Regions from separate parts of the Homo sapiens genome. Here regions 1 and 2 are each linked to region 3. The links are contacts of gene promoters, found by promoter capture Hi-C in blood cells and fetal thymus (Javierre and others, 2016). All regions are on one chromosome and are shown on one strand. Each heading gives the region's core, a stretch centred on a gene start or on the middle of the fragment in contact. The rest is flanking DNA. Distances are from core to core; before and after follow the strand shown.

Region 1 (2,700 bases), core at 133-2,632, 150 kb after region 3:
CCCTGTCATTGAAATGAGCTCACTGCATATGCTTTAAAAGCTCACAGTTCCTGTGCAATGCAGAGGTTGCATATTCCTAGTTTCATAACTGCCTACCCCCTCCTCAGTCTTTTATGTTTCAACAACACCCAACACCTCACAATGTAGTAGCCACTGGGGGCAAGTATTGATAGATTTGTACACATGAATTCAATGAATATTTAAAGGCTACCTCCAGGGTGGGTAGGAGTCAGTTTGTATAGATTCCCGGGCACCTACAGCAAAGTAGATTCCAGCAGCTTTGAAGACAGTCAATCTACAAAGGGACACAGGTGCTGGCTACTGGGAATGAGCACACGCCGGGAGTCCGTGCACATGAAAATGGCAAAGGGATCTGAGGGGATATTGACAGAGCAGGACCAAATCTGCTATAAAAAGGAGGTGTTTCAATTCTAGAGAAGGAGGTCCAGAGAAGACCTCCTTGAGAAGATGACATTTGAATAAGAACCTGCAGGAAGTATGAGCCAGCTATGCAGGTACTCCTAATTTCCATTGCAGTGCCTGGCATGTAGCATCTACTCCATGTTGTTTGTTAAATAGCTGAATGAATGGATGAACAACGAACGATGTTTCATGTTTGCTTTCACTGGCATGAGAAGGATTCCAGGCTCCTGGTCCCTACCTTGAGATCGGATGCTGGAGCAGGTGACTTGTACCAGCCAGGAGGTCCAGCTGCAGGCCTCTTGCATCATCTCTCCTGCTGACCTCGCAGAGCCGGGAGAGAAATTTGCATTCCAAGTCCCACAGCATCCTGGTGAAGAAAACACTCCAAGTGTTGGAGAGTTGCAAACTTGCTGGGTGCGTGTGGGCTGCCTCAGGAGCAACAAATGAGCCTGTGCAGATGGTGCTGAGATAAACGGCGCCATCTTTTTACTGTAGCAGTACAGTCGTAATTTTCCAGAGACATTTATTAGGTGGCGTCTCCCTTCTGCGGGACTGTGCTGTGGCTGGCGTGTAGAGCTGTTGCAAGCAAGGTGGAGCACGGAACCCAGTGCTAATGGCGTGATGGGCACCCAAATCTCTCCCATTCCTTTCCTCTCATTCTCGAGTCTGACAATTTATAGGTTAGTTTGATGCTTGAAAAGCTGTGTCTCTCTAGTAATATGTATTCTTTGTAAGTATGCCCTGCTGTGGCATATACTGAAAGAACTCCATCGGATAATTATCTTCCCTTTTATTTATTCTCCTTCTTTTCACTTGATCTGCATCACTATAAAATATTCCAGTGGTCTCCTCTGAGTAGAAAGTCTTCTTCGTGATTGTAAAGTGTATTTATATACAGTATTAAATGCACACTAGGTGGCTCTTCATCACAGCACTTGCCTGATGAGACAGAGCTCTGTCCGTGGTGGGGTTGACGAGGTCCCACTATTTCCAGTTGGGAGAGGGAAAGCTGGGGTTTTTGAGGCCACTGGCTTGGCCACAGGCCCCAGTGGTATGGAGAGACCATCTCAGGAGCCTATGTTTAGCTTTAACTTCCCCTCAACACACCTTGACTTGGAGAAAGCAGCCATTCCCCCACTGCCTCTGGGATCTTTGCCCAGAATCCCCAGGGAGCCTCCTTTGCCATGGGAGTCTTGGTCCAACTTGGTCCAACTCCCCACTCTTCTCAGAATCTAGAGAAAGTGAGAGCTCACTAGTAGACCACAGCATCTGTGTCTGGGTCCTGGTGACTTGCTTGCTTTAGTGTCCTCCAGCCCTTTCATGTGCACATTGCTTCTCTAACTAGACAGAAAGCTCCCTGTGGACAGGCACAAGATCATCCACCTCTCTTGATTTCCCCAAAGCCTTAAGCACAGAGTTGGGTGATCAACTTACGATGAGCAGTAAATAGGTATTGCCTTGAGTCCCTTTCTAGGAAGCACTGGCGGATTAGGTCCTTCATTCCATGTCCTTGATGCTCATATTAACTTGCATATTTAATACACGGCTTTGTCAAATATTTAAAAGTCTCTTCAACCAGATGACAAGCCCCTGTAGCATCTTACAATCTCAGAACTGGAAGCCTCTTCAGGGGTCCCACTGTCCTCCTTACATCCAGTGTATGACTATGAATCCTGGAATTTCTTTTGCTCTTTTTTTTATTCTCTCAATGCCCAGATTATATAACTGGAATAAAAAAGATGCAAAAAATAATCTAGAAAGAAAACGTACTTAGAGTCAAGACACCTGGGTTCTAGTCAATTCCTTCACAGAGTCACAGAACCTTTCTGGCCTTTATTTTCCTCATCCATAAAATATGGAAATACTTATAATCTTACAAAAGCTAAAGATCTAAAGGTCTTTTGGCTCAACCTTCTGCTCCCAGATGGGTATCTGTGTAACCTGGAAAGGCTGCCAGAGGGGGGATCTCAACAACTTTACTTAACAACTTTACCTGTGTTCTTACCTAGGGTTTAACCACCCTGGAGTTAAGAATGTCATCCTTTTGCCTCTATGTCTTGCTTGTAGTTCAGGCAGAATCTCTGTGTTCCTCAATTGCTTACCAGGGAGAGTGTAGGTATTTCTCCTTCCACCATCTGGAGCTGAGAAGGGGAAGTTTAGAGTGAGGGCTGGGTGTGGACCTTCCAGGGGAAATAGTTCTCCATCCAGCTTTGCATCAGGAACACCTGTGGAGCTTTCAACACCTGCACAGGCCAGGGGCACATCTTGGATCCGTTG
Region 2 (2,853 bases), core at 166-2,665, 240 kb after region 3:
GTTCTCTCAGACAGTGTGGTATGTTGAGGGAAAGGAAGGAAATCATGGTTTGGCTGAACAGCTGGGCAGAGCAGCAAGGGAAACTGAAGTATGTTAGAAGAGCAGGACCGGAGGATAGAGCAGACGGGGGCCACAGGAGGACTTCTGGAAGGAGCCCACAATTCAACTCCTTTGAGGGCCTTCAACATCTATTTAACGTTGTAACATTTTGAAATTCTATTTTGAGGGGACTAGACTCTCAGAGAAGGGGCGTGAAGAATGTGGGGGACTTAGGTGCAAATGTGTGTGCTGGGGGGCGGTATTTAGGGCTCTTGGTGGAGCCCCTCATGTCATGGAGAAGCGAACCCTTTCCACTGTGCCCCCACCCCCTTTTCCTAGCCCTATGAAGGGCTCAGACTTTCTTGGAGATGTGGAGCATTTCAGCCAGACCCTACGGTCAAAGATCAGTCACAGAGCAGTCTTCTGTGGCAACCTGTGCACAGTCCCCCAAGGCAGCAATCTGGGGTCACCAGGGAAGTTACTGTTACTAATCTGACCTGGGAAGTTTTCTTTTTCGTAGGGGAATCTAGAAATACTCCAGGGAAAGCCACGGCCAAGCCTTTGCCCAGCCAGTAAACTTTTAGGGCTTTTGCGTGAGGTTGGTTTAGAAGAATTTGCCGATGCCAAGGCTGCTATGTTGGTTTCACTGATGCAGATTTAAAGAAGGAGGGCCAGTGAGACCTCGGGAATAGGAAGGCAGAGGAAACCTTTCTATTCTGATGTCTTCAAGTCTTGGTGCTTGAATGTGCCAAGGAGAGTGAGGATGTAAATAATTTAGTTTGCCTTCAGGATGCAGGATCTAATCTAAACATGATTAAGCTGATTTGATTTTATAGATTGGAATTTATAAGTGATAGAAACTGATGAGGTTAATGTGAAATATTTACGTAATAAAAAGCTTCATTACCTGATGCTGAAGGGTAGAGGGAGAAAATATTCTTGGCAACATGTTTAATCTTTTGGAAATGAAGTTGGGTTAAAGTTTTCTTTGTAAAAACTGAATTCTGTGATCTTGTTTTTACACATGCTGTGCTTAAATATTAACACCAATTGAGCAAATTGCCTTTTAACTGCCTTTATTTGCTTTCATTAACAGTATAATTTAAAAGCTCAAGAATTTGCATGGAACCTGTTGTGCATGTTGGGGGGAAAACTATTCATAAATTAATTAATCGTGAGAACATTATCTTTAAGGAAGGTCACAAAACATGAGCATGATTTCCAAAAAGCAGTGACATGTTTTTGCCGTTTCTTGGGGACGTGATGTACTTTTGGCTTAGAGATCTGTGCTGCGTGTGTGTGTGTGTGTGTGTGTGTGCACGCGCGAGATAACTTGGCTGGATCAAGAAAAATTTTAATGACTGGGCATGTTTTAAGTTAAGTTGAGTGAACCTAATTACACTGTAGTTTCCAGAGAGCTAAAGGCAATAATACCATTGGTATTTAAGCACTAGTTTGAAAATTAAAGCCAACCTATATAATTGGCTGTGCTCCTTAGATGGTTTATTTCTTTCTTCCCTCCATTTCTGAAATCCCCCTTTTCTTTCTCTTTCACATTTAAACCAATAGAGAGAAAGAGAGAAACTGCCTAGCGCTGCGAACCACAAGACGGTCCTTCCAGTGGGGAACATTAACTGCATTGTCCTCTCATGAAATGACGCTAAATAATGTTAAAGGTTTCCAGTATGATTTCACTGAAATTGGTTGCTTCCTTCTGTACAGATGTTTTTGTGGTTTAGAACCTCAGCCAAGGCAAACATTATGAATGAGATGCAGAGACCACCATGTCCTATGAAGGGCTGAGAGTTCCTTTGGGAGTTATTTTACTTGTGATTCTGACACCTCTGTTTTGACAAAGCTTCATTCTTTCAGTCTCTTCTTTCCGTCTCCCTCTCCTGGTGCTATTGGTTTGTTGTGGGTGGTTTTCCTAATTAAGTTAATCTGCAACCTAGTTTTTCTGGGTCCACAGATGCCAGAATGCTGAATTTATTTATCTTGAATGTTTTTGTTGGCTACTGTTGAGACACATTCTTCCTCTTCCCCTTTTACCCCAAGTCTGTTTTAAACATTTTTTTTTTGAGGCTTCCAGACGCACTTCAATAAAGAAAGAATTTCTCTCTGGTGTCCATTTGTCAATTTTTTTGTGGGGGATGTATATTGTAAATAATATAATAGATATGTAAAAGGTTGTAAATAAAACCCAAAGGTTATAGAGGAAAAGATGTGTAAATTTGACTACATCAAAAATTTAAAACTTTTTGCATGATTTTCTTTCGGATTTTTGCCTTTTCCTTGCACATTTGTTGGTTCTCTTTCGATATAAATCAGAAAAATGAATCTTTTATCTGTCAAATGCATGGCAAAGATTCTTCCCAGTCTATCATTTGTCCTACAGTTTTGATTATGGTTCCTTTCATCACAGAACATTTCTATTATTTATTTAACTAAAAAATGTCACAATGATGTCTGTAGCGTAGATTTTATAAAGCATCTGATGGTCATATTTTATAATCTAAATTTTGGAAAAGTATTTGGATAATGAGAGATGGAGAAGGTAGAGGGAGAGCAAGGGAGGGATAGAGAGGGCACGAAGATGAGGAAGGGAGGGATGAGGAAGAGGAGAAAGACTGGTGAGAATGAATGATGTTAAAAGATTGATTTTTCTTCCTGTAAAAAAGTTGGCTGTCGTCAAAACACCCCTTCTGTCTAAGGGAAATATTGTCCTTTTGGCATGTACTTGAACCATAAAGATTTCTCTACTTGAGGAGACCTTTCCTAAGAGTTACCTGTCCAGAAGGCAGTCCTACTGTTCTC
Region 3 (2,746 bases), core at 201-2,700:
CAAAGTGAGACTCCGTCTGGAAAAAAAAAAAAAAAAAAAGTGCGTCCAGACTGGGCGCGGTGGCTCACGCCTGTAATCCCAGCACTCTGGAAGGCCGAGGCGGGCGAATCACCTTAAGTCGGGAGTTTGAGACCAGCCTGACCAATATGGTGAAACCCCGACTCTACTAAAAATACAAAAATTAGCCGGGCCGGTGGCAAGCACCTGTAATACCAGCTACTCAGGAGGGTGAGGCGGAGGATGCAGTGAGCCGACATCGCGCCACAGCACTCCAGCCTAGGCAACAGAGGGAGACTCTGTCGAAAAAAAAAAAAAAAAAAAAAAAAAAGTGTCTCCATGCTAAATACTACTGGCCTTCCAGACAAAAGAGTAAAAAGGTATAAAAGGATTCTCACCTGAGGGTATCTGTCTGCCAGCTTTGTACGACAAATATAGTTTCTCATCTCCAAACTCGTATTTGAACAACTGGCACAGATTTCCCGTTTTCTCTTGAAAAAGTGCAGTACTTGAGGGGTGAGGAGGTGGTGTTAAGTTATAACATTCCGAAGTAACACTAGAAGACATGCTCAAATTGCCCTCTTCCCAAGTTTCTTCATACAGACATTAGCTTTTCTCTCAAACCAGGGTTCTTTCACTCTCACCAGATTCTTAGATCAGAAGTCCTTATATTGATTTCAATCTTCTTAGACATTGGGAACAGGAGATCATCATCAGTAGACTTTCTATTCATCACGCAGCTCCTCCCCCTCCTTAAAAATCTAGAGCGATGAAGGCAATAATTGGGGAGGCTGCGCTGTTTTGTTTTTAAAGCCGGGTTGGGAGGGAGGGAAGTGGTGGTAACTGGGACCCCTGGTCTTATAGAAGACGGTGATTAATTCCGGACTTTAAGTGAGATAACTTCGGTCTGCTTTAACCTTTTAAAAACGCCGCCATAAAACTGATTTAAAAGTCAAAGCAAAACAAAACCAACCAACGCTGCCGCTTTCGGAAGTTTCTCACCCCGGACGGGGCCCAGGAGGGCTCACCTTACTGATCCCTGCGGCGGAGAACCCCACGTCCAGCCCTTTATATTTGGTTTTCCAAAATCTGGAAATCCCCCTACAACTTCAGCTCGCCCACGGACGCGAAGATGCAGTCCTCAATCTCCGCGGCCCGAGCCCCGCAGAGCCCTTGGCCTTCTCACCCACGCTGGCGGGCGCACCCCCTGTCCCGCCCGGCCGGGGCGCCCTCCGCAGCCCGCAACCCGCAGCCCTGCAGGCCCCGCACGCTCCCCTCAGGGCCTGGAGCCCGCCCCCAGCTCCCGCTCGCCGCCGCGGAGCCCACCGAGCCGTGGCCGTCTGCCGCGCCGGCCGCGTCGTCCTGCTGCAGCTCCGCAGTCATGGCCGAGGCGCCCAGCCGCGGGTCACCGGTCTCCCGCCGCAGCCGCCGCCGGCCCAGCCTCTCAGGACTAGGCCCCGCCCCCGCCCTCCACCCCGCTCCGTCCCGCCCCCGCCCGCAGCGCGCGCCGGAGGCTTGGCCCACATGCCCCGCCCCCGGCATGCGCGCGCACGCAAGGCGCGCGGCCCGGGGCCGAACAGTTCTGCGTGCTCCCGCGCACGCCCGGCTGACCAGACGTCGGTCACGTGATCCCGGCCCCGCCTGTCGCTGTTGGTCAGCTTCACAGCCGGTGGAGGCTGCGGGCCGCGCTGCCAGTGTCCGGGAACTGGGTTTGCGAATCCTGGGAGCCGCGTTCCTGAGTCTTCTCCGCTCTCTGCCCTCAAAACCTCATTTGTAGGACTGACCTCCGGCTCCACCCTCCCCACGGGCGAGTTAAAACTGTTCCCCCGCCGTGGGAAACTGCCGAATGACCGTGGAATAAAGGATTTCCCATCAGGCTTTGTAGCCATTTCCAACTCCAATGACATGAAGAAGTGTTCACCATCTTTAAGGAGAGAAGGAGGATGAATGCAGTCGCTTGTCTAAAGCTAACCAAACGGACCAAAGCCTCCGTTCATGGGTGTCCCGCTTGGTGCCCTTAACCCTGATGCTCTTAACCTGGGCATGATAAGGAAAATTGCAGTTTTTCCATTTTCGATTTTCAGAAGTTCAAACTAAAATTTTGTGTTACTTTGTTACGTTTGAGCCAGATATTTACGATTTCATGTTAAAAGACCAGGTGCTCCTATTGAATTGTTTTTTGTTTGGTTGGTTTCGGTTTGTTTTTTTTTTTTTCTTTTTTTTTGAGACGGAGTCTCACTCTGTCCCCTCAAGCTGGAGTGCAGCCGCACGGTCTCGGCTCACTGCAACTTCCGCCTCCTGGGTTCAAGCGATTCTCCTGAGTAGCTGGGATTACAGGCACGCTGTACCACACCCAGGGTTTCACCATGTTGCCCAGGCTGGCCTCGAATTCCTGACCTCAGGTGATCCGCCCGTCTCGGCCTTCCATAATGCTGGGATTATAGGCGTGAGCCACCGCGCCAGGCCTGAATTGTATTTTCAACAACTGTGTGGGAATTGTGATTACTGAACCATGTTTCACATTTAAGATACAAATGTGTTATGATGGCAAACCCACTTGACAGGCTGCTGGGTGTCCCAAATCTGCGTAGAGGCTGAGTGTGGAAGCGCGTCTTTTAAGAGTAGCACCTACACCCTTGCCCTGGTCTGGTCTGACTCTCAAGCTACACTTTTAAGTGTGAATTTAACATGGACGGTGGCCTTTCCTATACTCCTGGCATTGTTGTCGCTGGGATTGTTATGTTTCACC

What was found. The method cuts DNA at HindIII sites, captures the fragments that hold promoters and counts their contacts. A CHiCAGO score of 5 or more calls a contact.
Region 1: a fragment that was not itself captured here is called in contact with the fragment with the promoter of USP28 in region 3 in 1 of 17 cell types (naive B cells); the score reaches 5.5 in naive B cells.
Region 2: a contact is called between a fragment that was not itself captured here and the fragment with the promoter of USP28 in region 3, in 3 of 17 cell types (total B cells, naive B cells and neutrophils). The highest score is 6.9, in total B cells.

Annotation. Positions count from the first base shown.
Region 1 is chr11:114,026,767-114,029,466 of GRCh38, forward strand. No RefSeq gene overlaps it. Among named protein-coding and RNA genes, the nearest start is that of ZBTB16, 32 kb to the right of the region's middle. The HindIII fragment of the contact is 3,700 bases long and covers 1-2,700 here.
Region 2 is chr11:114,109,825-114,112,677 of GRCh38, forward strand. All of the region lies in intron 2 of ZBTB16 (zinc finger and BTB domain containing 16), which reads left to right. Among named protein-coding and RNA genes, the nearest start is that of ZBTB16, 52 kb to the left of the region's middle. RefSeq lists a silencer at 1,409-1,609. The HindIII fragment of the contact is 960 bases long and covers 936-1,895 here.
Region 3 is chr11:113,874,122-113,876,867 of GRCh38, forward strand. USP28 (ubiquitin specific peptidase 28) reads right to left here and starts at 1,451. Exons shown (of 26, transcript NM_001346252.4): 1 at 1,324-1,451. The coding sequence starts at 1,380. RefSeq lists silencers at 1,150-1,509, 1,530-1,689 and enhancers at 1,426-1,720, 1,710-1,959, 2,010-2,671. The HindIII fragment of the contact is 13,869 bases long and covers 1-2,746 here.